Regions from separate parts of the Homo sapiens genome. Here region 2 is linked to region 1. The links are contacts of gene promoters, found by promoter capture Hi-C in blood cells and fetal thymus (Javierre and others, 2016). All regions are on one chromosome and are shown on one strand. The core of a region is centred on a gene start or on the middle of the fragment in contact, and the rest is flanking DNA. Distances in the headings are between cores, read along the strand shown. Region 1 holds the start of CLPX (caseinolytic mitochondrial matrix peptidase chaperone subunit X). Region 2 overlaps CSNK1G1 (casein kinase 1 gamma 1).

The links. Contacts are between HindIII fragments. The CHiCAGO score rates a contact against its expected background, and 5 or more counts as called.
Region 2: a fragment that was not itself captured here is called in contact with the fragment with the promoter of CLPX in region 1 in 1 of 17 cell types (fetal thymus); the score reaches 9.3 in fetal thymus.

What each region holds. Positions count from the first base shown.
Region 1 is chr15:65,182,993-65,186,644 of GRCh38, reverse strand. CLPX (caseinolytic mitochondrial matrix peptidase chaperone subunit X) reads left to right here and starts at 1,303. Exons shown (of 14, transcript NM_006660.5): 1 at 1,303-1,570. The coding sequence starts at 1,492. RefSeq lists a silencer at 1,055-1,364 and an enhancer at 786-1,670. The HindIII fragment of the contact is 3,137 bases long and covers 672-3,652 here.
Region 2 is chr15:64,164,600-64,168,293 of GRCh38, reverse strand. CSNK1G1 (casein kinase 1 gamma 1) reads left to right here. Exons shown (of 12, transcript NM_022048.5): 12 at 1-2,769. Among named protein-coding and RNA genes, the nearest start is that of PPIB, 3.4 kb to the right of the region's middle. The HindIII fragment of the contact is 7,083 bases long and covers 1-3,694 here.

The DNA of each region.
Region 1 (3,652 bases), core at 54-2,553:
GAAGGGCTGATGTGACCACAAGTATTTGCCATCACTTTCCTGGTGAAGGATCCATTTTCTCACAGGGATAATCTCAGATGGCTCTGGGTTTTTTTTTTTTTTTTTTGAGACGGAGTCTCGCTCTGTCGCCCAGGCTGGAGTGCAATGGCACGATATCGGCTCACTGCAACCTTCGCCTCCTGGGTTCAAGCAATTCTCCCACCTCAGCCTCCTGAGTAGCTGGGATTACAGGAGTACGCCACCACACCTACCTAATTTTTGTATTTTTAGTAGAGATGGGGTTTCACCATGTGGGTCAGGCTGGTCGCAAACTCCTGACCTCGTGATCCACCTGCCTCGGCCTCCCAAAGTGCTGGGATTACAGGTGTGAGCCACCACGCCCAGCCGGCTCTGTGCTTTTGAATTCATAACTTGAGAGGATGGCCTGATAGGAACCTGACCAGAGGTTATCTATGCAGTGCCATCCTTAATCACGGCCGGGTGCGGTGGCTCACGCCTGTAATCCCAGCACTTTGGGAGGGCGAGGCGAGAGGATCACTTGAGCCCAGGAGTTTGAGACCAGCCTGGGCAACATAGGGAGACCTCATCTTTACTAAATTAAAAAAAAGAAAGAAAGAAAAGAAAACCCTCAAGACTTTAAAGCACCCACGGACTAGCAACAGCTAGAAGCTTTATCACCACGAGGCCTGAAAGAACAAGGAGACGGAGCTGTTACCAACTAACAATTGCTGCTCAGGGAACTAACTGACAATACCAACTCCATGTTACAAGTGATGAAACTAAGGAGAATGAGAAGATAAGGAACACAGGATGTGGAATTCCGGGGGAAGAAATTTAGTGAATCTGAAGCATCCAGCGCCTACCAAGGCACTTTAGAGACTTCCCCCTGGAGGGTTAAGCCACCAGCCTCACCTTGACCTTCCCTGCCGCCCACTAAAAGTGACCGGAAGAGCTCGACTATGACGACTCGGGACTACAAGTCCCGGCATGCATCTCTCCGCGTCTATCGCAAAACCTTTCAACTTTAGGATAAAAGGGCTTTTGGCAACCTTGAGCGTCGGGACCTGTAGTCGCCCCAGTTGGGGCTAGACGCTTGCCGTAGGGAACTCATTGGCGCCCAGGGCACCACCCCCTCGCCTTCGCCTCACGTAGCTTCACCAGCTCGCAAACACGGCGCGTGCCCACGCCCTCCGCCCCCTCCCCGGGCCTAGGGCGCAGGCGCGCGCAAGCTCCCCGGGCCCAGTAGGCTGGGGGTGGGGGTAGAAGGAGAAGGAGGGGAAGGGAGGGGGGGGTTGGGTGTCTACTCTGGTGAATAGACGGCTGTGGGGCAGAGAAGCGTGAAGGCCTGGCTGCCGGGCAGGTGAACTCTCCACGGGGTCTAGGGCCCGCGAAAGGGTTCGGAACCGAGTCAGCGCGCCTTGCGGGCAGGATTCACGCCGCTGTGACCCGGAGGTCCTCAGGGGGCGAAGCCCCGGCCTAGGCCTCGCGGAGATGCCCAGCTGCGGTGCTTGTACTTGCGGCGCGGCGGCCGTCCGGCTCATCACCTCCTCACTCGCCTCCGCGCAGAGAGGTAACGAAATAGTGCCACTCCTGAGCCCTCAGCCTGTCGGGGGGGGGGTGGACTGGCCAATGGTTGGGGGCCCCGGGGAGGGCACGAGGCCTGCTGCACCCGGGGAGTGTGAGGGAATGCGCGGCGCTTCGCCCGGCACCCACCACTTTCCCCGTGGAATGGGGCTCTGCCAACCTCTGGAGCAGCCGTTGCTCAAATTGGAAGTAAACTCCTTCCCACGCGCCTGCCTGCACGCTTTCAGGCCTGCTGACTTTGGGGCCGGAATGCGGCCACTTTGTAGAAACCCTGAAAGGCACAAAATGCTCCTGTTATTAAAAAATGTCTCCAGATCCCACTCAGCCCTGCCGGGGACCGCCGCCTGCCATGGCTGCGGCTCTTCTTCCGCAGCCTGGCCGGGATCCCCCTCGGGCCCGTTGGGGGCTCCAGGAGGGGCTCGGCTGAGGATCTGTCCCTACTAGGGTCCCCCAGGACTCGGGGCACCCAGCTGGCCGTCCCGGACGCAAGCCGCGCGATACCCGAGATGTTACTATCACTGTGCGGCCCTGACACTGGGACATAAACAAGGTTCACAATACTTCCCGGCGTCAGGCAAGCCCCGGGGCCCGCAGGACAGCGGCGGGAGAGATGGGGAGAAGTCCCGCAGGAGTTGGTTCGGAAGTACTTGGGTGTTTCAGCAGTCCTTTGCTGGCTTTCCCAACTTGACCGGGAGGTAGTTTCCTAAGAGTGGCGCATGTTGTTTACCTTTTCTTTCTGTTTATCTGAAGCTGTGAAAGAATGGCGCCCCAGCCAAGAGAGTCTGGAAAATAAACTTTTTTTCTCTTCCTCAAATCTGTGGAAGTCAGACCACGAGGCTAGATCCTGTTATAATGACTGACTTCTAGACAAATTCGTTTTATTTTGGCTTATCGGTTTATGACCCTTGGATGGATTTTTAAAAAGGCCCCTTTTATCTAACTTCTAAGCCAATTATAAAATCCTTATTGTTTACTAAATATATCTTCCAGTTTCTTTACTACAGAAGGAAGGATTGAATGAGGTAACGTGGGCAGAAGCATTTTGTAAAATGATATATAAATGTAAGGGAGTAAATTTAATCCTAAATCGATGTTAAGCCTCAACCAGTAGATGTCCCGATTCCAGGAATTCGATTTGCAAACACTTTAAAGTGACATATTTTAATCCATTTATCTGATATATATTAATATTTGTCAAGGGTCCACTGTGTGTCAGGCCTTCTTTTAGTGCTGGAGGTAGAGTGGTGAATAAGTCCTCACCCTCATGTTTAAATCTAGTGGAGTAGACAAAGAATAATACAGTTTCCAGTGGGTGGATGAAGTATGTGTGTGTTCCCTTTGGTCAGGGACGGCTTCTTTGAAAGTGTTACTGATCTCTTGTAGCCAAGAGTCCGTGAACATTTTTGAATCATAGGAGATAGGCAGTTATTTTTTTTTCTTTTCAAAACGACTGTTTTCTTTCTTTTTCTTTTCTTTTCTCCTTCCTTCCTTCCTTCCTTTCCTTCCTTCCTGTCTTTCTTTCCTTTCTGTCTTTCTTTCCATCTACTATCTGTCTTTCTGTCTGTCTTATTTTCTTTCTTTTTTTTTTTTTTTTTTTTTTGAGACAGAGTCTCGCTCTGTCGCTCAGGCTGGAGTGCAGTGGCCAGATCTCAGTTTACTGCAAACTCCGCCTCCTGGGTTCACGCCATTCTCCTGCCTCAGCCTCCCGAGTAGCTGGGACTGCAGGCGCCCGCCACCACGCCTGGCTAATTTTTGTATTTTTAGTAGAGACGGGGTTTCACCGTGTTAGCCAGGATGGTCTCGATCTCCTGATCTTGTGATCCGTCCGCCTCGGCCTCCCAAAGTGCTGGGATTACAGGCGTGAGCCACCGCGCCTGGCCTCTTTTTGTGTGTCTGTCTTGATGGAATCTGCTAAGTTGCCCGGGCTGGAGTGCAGTAGCGCGATCTCGGCTCACTGCAACCTCCGTCTCCTGGGTTCAAGCAATTCTTCTGCCTCAGCCTCCTGAGTAAGCTGGGGTTACAGGCGCGCGCCACCACGCCCCACTAATTTTTATATTTTTAGTAGAGA
Region 2 (3,694 bases), core at 82-2,581, 1.0 Mb after region 1:
GACTGCCTTAATTAACATTCTTCTGCTATTATGGAGCCTGTCCAGCAATAAACAGGGTCTAGGAAGGTACAAGATTAGCTTCCAGTTAAAATCCCATTTTATATTGGAATGCATGAGCTACAGATGACAGCAGAGATCCTGAGGTTTCTAGACATGTTGATTGTCTCTTTTTTCTAAATGAACTCCAAGTACTTAGAAAACAGTCCCTGTCCATCAGCCAGAAAAGGTGACCATCACCCCTAAAGTAATTTCCAAACTTAGTTCAGTGGGAAGATATGCTGGTAGTGCATATTCAGTGTTGATTTTCAGTGCTAGTAACCACTTTTAATGCCAGAAATATGTAACAATGATAATGTAACGTCAAAGTGGTTACTAAAGATTATAGCCTTAACTTTTTTATGTAAAAGATAAAATCCATTCCTCCTCCCAGTGAGCAAGCATGGCTTGCATTTCTCAAAAATGAGAACTTCCATGGCAGCCAAGAAAACGTCTTCTCAGAGGAACTTTCGTTTGATGCATCTCCCAAGCCCACATGCCTCCTGTGTTCCAGCCACCTCTTCCATTTCACATTTAAACCAGCTCTCCATTCCCATTGAGTTGCCCTAACAACATTGTCTCCAGTGTCAGAACCATATTAAGGTTCGTTTCTCAGATTGGGAGCCTGCAACACCATACAGCCAACATTGCCTTTGCCACGCCACTGCCACCATCCCCACCATTGCCCTATGGTGGGCAGATGAATTCCAGAAACCCTCAGGGAGCCAGGATAATTAGGCAACCCATCTGAATTGGCCACGTAAGTGACAGGCACTTATCTCTCGGGTTCTTGCTTTTGCAGACTCCAGGGAAGTCCTGTCTAGAGGTCGATGGCAGAGACTCCTAGTCTTTCCCATGAGGGGTTGATAGGAATCAAATTGGGATTCCTTTGGCTTTGGGTTTTGTTTTTTTGTTGTTGTTTTTGGTTTTCAGTTTGTTTTTTGGTGTATGGGGGGTGATTTTGTTTCTGAATAAGAAAAAGAAGAGGCAACCATGGCCCTTATGTGGGTTTATCCTTTTTGAGCAATGTTTTAGCCACAAGTAAGGAATCTTGAAAGTCTTTTGTCCAGCAAGCAGTCTTAAAAATGTTTTTCCTAACTCCTTTTGCAGGTGACTAAGTACAAAAAAATAGTTTTCTCATTGTATTCAAAATAGTGAGTAGGTTCCCTGGATAATACACAGTGGTAGTTGACATATTTTCTCAAAACACAACCAGAAAACCCACTTCCGGTATTTGTAAATCACCTTTCAAGGGAAAAAGTGAACACGTATTCCTTGTATTTCTAGTTTGATTACCAAACCTGATGTTACAAAGAAACCTCCGTTCTGTAGACAGAATTTCTTTTATTTTTCTTCTTTTACTCCTCACAATCACTTTCCCAGTGCCATCACCATCTATAAGGTCTCAGAGCAGAGGATTATTCATGGTAATAAGTGGGGGTGTGGTGCAGCCATTCCAGTAACACCCACAAGAGGACAGCTGTTCTGAATGTCCCCACCCACCCCTCTTTCAGTACAGGTGAGACATTTTCAGTTCATGAGCTCCAGACCAAATCCCAGGCCAGCCCTTGCACCAAAAGCCTTTTTTAGAAGGCTTATCAGTCTATTAGGAATGTCTCAGGAAAGATGAGCCATTTCTTTGGGGAGAAATATATTTACAGATGGAAGTGTGTGACTGCGTGTCTGTGTGTGTGTGTGGTGTGTGTGCGCACGTGAGTGCGTGTGTTCATCTATGTGCATTTCACTTCCATAAAGACCCAGCCCAAGCTGCTGGGAACCATGTGTTCCTGAGTATTCTCAGAGGTTAAACAAGTGACAAGTGAGCTTCTGAAATTAGTGTCTCAGCAAGCTGGCTTTAGGAATGAGCCCCATTTTATCAAGCAGAGAAAAAAAATAACAGCAGAAAAGATAAAGATAAACCAAAAATATATACCCCCCAATGGAAAATAATGTTGATTCAGCAATTCCCATAGGATGTATTACATGCTCTAATTTATTATATTATTATTTATCTGTCTTTGATCTTTGCCCATTGTACTCTTAAAAAGATGTTGGGATGTTGATTGCGATTTTTAAACAACTAGATAATGTATAAATCAGCAGTGGAAATCAGTTTTAATGTGTGGATGTGTCTGATTATTGTTAAATGCCTCTTTTTTTACTTTTTTTTTTTTTAGATGTATAATGTTTCATAAACCCTGGCACTGGTCACAAAGCTCAGCTGTGAAAATGAAATTTGTAGTATTTTTAAACATGAATGTCAATTTCAAGTGTATTTGAAATGGTTCCTCCAGGAGAGATATTTGTGCACCATTAGGAAAATCTTCTCTGCAGAGGAAGTAGCCTTCTTTGGAGAAAATGGAAAATGGGTTCTGATATGTGATCTCAGAGTAGCCCATTTCCTAGGGCACCATGGAAAACACAAATGTGATCTTTAAGTATACCTCTTCCCCAGTTTGGGGAGGAAAGGACTCAGTTTGCACCCTTTTTGTATGTAAAATAAAATGTCTTACCTTTCTTGGCTACTTCTGCTTGTTTGGTTGGTTGATTGGTTTGTCTGTTTTTAATCTCCCTCGGCTCATTTGTAATTAACAATCTAGCTAGGACTAACTTTGATGCGATTCAAGACTCCTGTGAACAAAAATAATTTGGCATTCTTGTTTCATTCCTTGGATTAAATATTGTCTTCTCCTGTGAGTCACTTCAAAAATAAATACTGCTGTCTCTCTTCGAGTGCTGAAGAAGAAAATTATTTTTTAATTAAAAAAATAAATATTGGCCAGGCGCAGTGGCTCTCACCTGTAATCCCAGCAACTCCGGGAGGCCAAGGCGGGTGGATCATTTGAGGTCAGGAGTTCGAGGCCAGCCTGGCCAACATGGTGAAACCCTGTCACTACTAAAAATACAAAATTAGTTGGGCGTGGTGGTGCACACCTGTAATCCCAGCTACTCAGGAGGCTGAGGCAGGCCAATTGCTTGAATCCAGGAGGTGGAGTTTGCAATGAGCCAAGATCGCACCACTGTACTCCAGCATGGACGTCAGAGCAAGACTCCGTCTCAAATAAATAAATATTCCTGGAAGAATTTGGACATTATCACTCATACGTTAGTTCCTGGGTCCCTGTTGTTCTCAGGTGGTAGAACACAGGAAATCAGGATCTGCTCTGTGGAACAACTTTAGTAGCTTTATAATTCTCCTCTACAAATGCGGAATATGTGTCCAGACAGAAGATAGAACTATGATGAGCAATGTAAAACCATACTGCATATGTAGCCAACAGAACAACTGTCAATCTGGGCATGATTGACTCCTTCCAGTTTGTTACTACTCTTTAATTACTTTTTCACAGGCAGGTAGCAGTGGAAGAATCATGAGAGAAAAGTTTCACATTGAGAGCATTTTATCCATCAACCTGATTTCTTTTGAAAGTGGGAGTGGGAGAAAGGCTGCTGTGATGCCATTTTAGCCTTAGCTCCTCATGTGCAGGAGGCTACTTGGGTTTTTTGAGTGTTTCTTTGTTTTTGAGACAGGGTGGAGTGCAGTTTCACGATCACAGTACACTGCAGCCTTGACCTTCTGGGCTCAGGTGATTCCCCCACCTCAGCCTCTGGGGTAGCTGCGACTACAGATGCGCACCACCACGCCCTGCTAATTTTT